2 separate regions of the Homo sapiens genome follow, and region 1 is linked to region 2. Evidence: promoter capture Hi-C in human tissues and cell types (Jung and others, 2019). All regions are on one chromosome and are shown on one strand. Each heading gives the region's core, a stretch centred on a gene start or on the middle of the fragment in contact. The rest is flanking DNA. Distances are from core to core; before and after follow the strand shown.

The links. Contacts are between HindIII fragments. The study calls those that stand out against the background at their distance.
Region 1: a contact is called between the fragment with the promoter of OR7D2 here and a fragment that was not itself captured in region 2, in 1 of the 25 tissues and cell types used here (dorsolateral prefrontal cortex).

Annotation. Positions count from the first base shown.
Region 1 is chr19:9,177,672-9,180,371 of GRCh38, reverse strand. It overlaps OR7D2 (olfactory receptor family 7 subfamily D member 2), which reads right to left and starts at 1,393. Exons shown (of 3, transcript NM_175883.4): 1 at 1,249-1,393. The HindIII fragment of the contact is 33,183 bases long and covers 1-2,700 here.
Region 2 is chr19:9,807,702-9,810,401 of GRCh38, reverse strand. It overlaps FBXL12 (F-box and leucine rich repeat protein 12), which reads left to right. Exons shown (of 3, transcript NM_017703.3): 3 at 1-132. Among named protein-coding and RNA genes, the nearest start is that of FBXL12, 10 kb to the left of the region's middle. The HindIII fragment of the contact is 6,151 bases long and covers 1-2,700 here.

The sequences.
Region 1 (2,700 bases), core at 144-2,643, 630 kb after region 2:
GAGAGGCTAAGGCAGGAGAAATTCTTGAGGCCAGGAGTTTGAGACCAGCCTAGACAACAAAATGAGACACTTGCCTCTACAAAAATAGATTTTTAAAAAATTAGCTACTTGGGAGGCCAAGGCAGGAGGTTTGCTTGAGCCCAGAAAGACCCTGTCTCAAAAAAAAAAAAAGTCAACTTAAACACAATTAATTACAACTAATCAGTGTCATCAGCTTTCTTATGTATCTGCAAACAGCCATGAGAAAAAATAAGAGGAAAAAAAGTCCATTCACAATTGCAATGATAATATATGTAACATCTGGTGCAGAGTGAACATTTAATACATACTTGTTTTGTTTTGCTTTGCTTTGTTGATTTTTTTTTTTTTAGACGGAGTTTTGTTCTTGTTGCCCAGGCTGAAGTGCAATGGTGCAATCTCAGCTCACTGCAACCTCTGCCTCCCAGGTTCAAGAAATTCCCCTGCCTCAGCCTCCCAAATGGCTGGGACTACAGGCACACACCACCATGCCCGGCTAATTTTGTATTTTTAGTAGAGACAGGGTTTCACCATGTTGGCCAGGATGGTCTCGATCTCTTGACCTTGTGATCCACCCGCCTCGGCCTCCTAAAGTTCTGGGATTATAGGCATGAGCCACTGCACCCGGCCGAGAACTATTATATTATACTAGAGAAGAAAAAGGAAGGTGTTAGCAGGTAGACTGAAAGGAATCCACTCAAGGAAGTGCCAGTTCCTACTGACATTGAGAAAGTCACTAGTTTCCAGAATGAAAGGCCATCAGAGGTGGAGGTGACAGAAACAGTTGCAATAGAATCTTTTTTTTTTTTTGAGACAGCGTCTCACTCACTCTGTCACCCAGGCTGGAGTGCAGTGGCGTGATCTTGGCTCATGGCAACCTCTGTCTCCCGGGTTCAAGCCATTCTCCTGACTCAGGCTCCCGAGTAGCTGGGATTACAGGCATCCGCCACCATGCCCAGCTAATTTTTGTATTTTTAGATGAGATGGGGTTTCACCAAGTTGGCCAGGCTTGTCTTAGACTCCTGGCCTCAAGCGATCCGCCTGCCTCAGCCTCCCAAAAGTTGCAATGCCTTAAGACATCTATAACCAGGTAAGGGAATCCTAGAGACATTTTAAAAATCATGAGACATTATCAACCCTGTTACCTCCATCTCTGTTCCTCCCCACACTACTTTTTAAATCCTTTTCACACACGGTACTAACAAGGATAGTGTGAGTCACTCAACTGACATTGCTTGAAAAAAAAAAATGCTGGTATGACGTCTTCCTCCCCTGACTGTTGAATGCTGAAGACAGAATCTAGCAGGGAAAGGCGGGGAGATGGAACTTGTCATGAAGTCATCCTAACTCTCCTCTCTAAGATGCATGAGTGTGGCGTCAGGAAACTGTCCAGGTGAGGTGTTTTAGGGAAGTATTTATGGTTTCTCAAGCCCCAGGGAGCTGATGTCTCATCCTTCCTCATTAAATCCACTGTTCCAGTGATGTTCTACTCTCCAACCCATTCGGCTCCCTTGGGATCAAGAGCAAATGGCAGAAAGGTATGATGTGTTCTAATTCTGTTTCCAAGAAGGCAGCTCTGAAGCCAGGTGACTCTCTCTGCACCTCCCACCCTCTTGGGGCCTCTTTATTCTTGGAAGAGCTTTCATCACTATTGGTTTGGCTTTGAGATAAAGAGGTTTTCCCCTCTGGAATGTGTCGCAGAAGCTACAAAGACCCATCTCTCTGTAATCCCAGTGCCTAAGGGTCTCAAGGTAACACAGAAGAAAATAGAGATGCAACTATTTCCGTGAATCCCCTGTGATCGCGTTGGCTGCAGGGCGTTAAACAGGCTGTGGACATGTCGTAAGTCCTGTTTCAAGAGAGGGAGAGTCAACCATTGCGAGATACAGCAAGATTTCTCTTCAAACAGCCTGCTCAGCTTCTTATTCTCTAATTCCAAGTACCCCCCCCACACACTTTCTTCTCCTTTTCTTCTTTCTGATTTTGCTGCATGCCCAGATATGCCATAGCCCCAGCTCACATTTCTTTCCTTATTTAAGAATAGACTAGCTGTCTATTCCTCTGTAGAAGACCCCTTCCTCCTCTCCTCTGTCTCCCATCACACACCCACCTTATCTAAGACAGTTTAAATGTGTAACCAATCAAGTCTAGTTTAGATTGTGCTGTCCGACCCCAGCCAATGGGGAAAGGACACACAAAGTCAAGAGTCGCATTAAGAATAAAAGTTGCTACTCTCCTTTGTTCAGGGTGCTCTTGTAGCAGCCAACCCTACGAGAAGCACCCTTCTGCGCAGAAGTAAATTTGCTTTGCTGAGAAATCCTTTGTTTGAGTGCTCATTTTTCTTTATGACTCCAAGATTTATTTCTAACAACCATGTAAAACGATGCTATAAGGCTAAGCAAAATAAAGGCTGAAGAATATCCATCACATTTAATGGCATGGAAAACATTAGAAACAGCGATCTGGGTAGAGTGATGGGGAAAATTTCATTGATGGCAAGTTTGGGAGGAACTGAACAATAAGAAAAAAGTTTTTTTCAATTTTTAAAATGATGGTAAAATATACATAACATACAGTTCACCATCTTAACCATTTTAAGTGTACTATTCAGTGGCATTAAGTATATTCACAGCAGCCATCACTATCCTCCATATTCAGAATCTTCTCATCTCCCCAAGCTGA
Region 2 (2,700 bases), core at 84-2,583:
ATGCAGACTCGCGATTCAATGATCGATATGCTCATAAAAGTGCTCAATTATATTTTCTGTATTTTGTATGCTGTATTTTCCAAGACGTATATTATTTTACTATTAAAGAAAAAAATCATTTTTTTTTCCCGAGAAGTATTCAGTTTATTCATTCAACCAATCTTTCTTGAGCTTCTGCTATTTTGCAGGCACTGTTCTAGGTTCTGGGAAACTGGGCCACCACAGTGAACAAAACTGACAAGACCCTGCCCTCGTAGATCTCATAGAGGAGAAGACAGGACAACAAACAGGTAAGCCAGTCCATGCTTTAGTTTTTTTGTGTGGGGACAGAGTCTCACTCTGTCACCCAGGCTGGAGTGCAGTGGTGCGATCTTGGCTCACTGCAACCTCCGTCTCCCGGGTTCAAGTGATTCTCCTGCCTCAGCCTCCCAAGTAGCTGGGATTACAGGCACCCGCCACCACGCCCAGCTAATTTTTGTATCTTTAGTAGAGATGGGGTTTCACCATGTTGGTCAGGCTGGTCTCAAACTCCTGACCTCGTGATCTGCTCACCTCGGCCTCCCAAAGTGCTGGAATTACAGGTGTGAGCCACTGCGCTCGGCCACCATGTTGTAATTTTGGAGACTCTGAGCCAGTACACCAGGGTCACGTGATGGAGGCATACTTGCATGGTTGAGTGAGCACGGTAGGCCTCTGTGCTGAGATCTGAGAGGTGAAGAGAAAGCAAAGATCAGAAGAGCTAGGGCAGAAGAGGAAAGGCCAGCACTGCTAAGATGAGAATGAACTTGGCATTTTCCAGAAACAGAAAGAAGGTTGTGTGGCAGAGTGAGCAGGGGTAAGAGCTGTCGAAGTTGAGGTCAGGGCCGGGCATGGTGGCTCACATGTGTAAACCCAGCACTTTGGGAGGCTGAGGTGGGTGGATCACTTGAGCCCAGGAGTTTAAGGCCAACCTGGGACATCTGAGGCAAGTGAATCACTTTGAGTTCAGGAGTTTGAGACCAGCTTGGGCAACATGGTGAAACCCTGTCTCTACAGAAAAAATTAGCCAGGTGTGGTGGTGTGCATCTACCCAGCTGGTATCCCAGCTATTCAGGAGGCTGAGGTGGGAGGATTGCTTAAGCCTGGGACTCGGAGGTTGCAGTGAACTGTGATCACCACTGCACTCCAGACTGGGTGACAGAGTGAGACCCTGTCTCAAAAAAAAAAAAAATAAAACAAAAGGAGATAATGGGGACAGGAGTGGGCAGGGCCTTGCAGGTGGCTCAGGCTTTAGGGGTTCAGTAAGTAACACCACCTTTTCCTGCCTTTCGAGTCTGAACCACTTGAAAGATGCAGGTGTCAGATTATAAGTGTGAGTGCCTACCCGTGAGATGAGCGTTGCTGTGTGTGGCTAAGCCCCGGCTCTGTGGGTTCACCACCTGCTCAGCAGGCCCAGGTGCCTCCTCTGGTGCTTAGAGCCAGGTTGGAGAAGAGAGCTGAGCTGGGTACACTTGGTTTCTTATTCCAAGCTTACCCATCAGAGAAGAGCCAGAGATGTTCCTCCCATGCTCTTCCCACTCAGAGTTGCAGTAGAAATTCCTTCTCTTTCTGTCTCTCTTTTTTTTTTTTTTTTGAAACGGAGTCTTGATCTGTTGCCCAGGCTGGAGTGGTGCAGTGGTGCAATCTTAGCTCACTGCAACCTCTGCCTCCCAGGATCAAATGATTCTCCTGCCTCAGCCTCCTAAGTAGCTGGGAATACAGGCGTGTGCCACCATGCCTGGCTAATTTTTGTATTTTTAGTAGAGTTGGAGTTTCACCATATTGGTCAGGCTGGTCTCAAACTCCTGACCTTGTGATCTGCCCACCTTGGCCTCCCAAAGTGCTGGGATTACAGGTGTGAGCCACTGCGCCCAACCTTTTTTTTTTTTTTTTTTTTTTTTTTAAATAGAGATGGGGCCAGGCACGGTGTGTCCCATGCCTGTAATCCCAGCACTTTGGGACACCAAGGCGGGAGGATCATCTGAGGTCAGGAGTTCGAGACCAGCCTGGCCAACATGGTGAAACCCCGTCTCTACTAAAAATACAAAGATTAGCTGGACTTGGTGGCACATGCCTATAATCCCAGCTACTCAGGAGGCTGAGGCAGGAGAATCGCTTGAACCCTGGAGTGGGAGGTTGCAGAGAGCCGAGATTGTACCACTGCACTCCAGTCTGGGCAACAGAGAGAGACTCTGTTTCAAAAATAAATATAGATAGATAGATAGGAGGTTGCAGAGAGCCGAGATTGTGCCACTGTACTCCAGCCTGGGCAACAGAGAGAGACTCTGTTTCAAAAATAAATATAGATAGATAGATAGACAGACAGGTAGACAGACAGAGACAGGAGTCTCCCTATGTTGCCAAGACTGGTCTCGAACTCCTGGGCTCAAGCCATCCTACTTCAGCCTCCCAAGTAGCTGGGACCACAGGAATGTGCCACCACACCTAGCTACTTTTTATTTTTTGTAGAGATGGGGGTCTCACTGTGTTGCCCAGGCTGGTCTCTAACTCCTGAGTGCAAATGATCCTCCTGCCTTGGCCTCCCAAAATACTGGGATTACAGGCATGAGCCACCTCACCTGAAATTCCTTCTCCATCTGGCCACATGAGGACTAGGCTATGAGTGTGCCCCTGATGTGGCCCTAGTCAAGGTCTGATTGTCCAATGCTGTGACCACCCCAG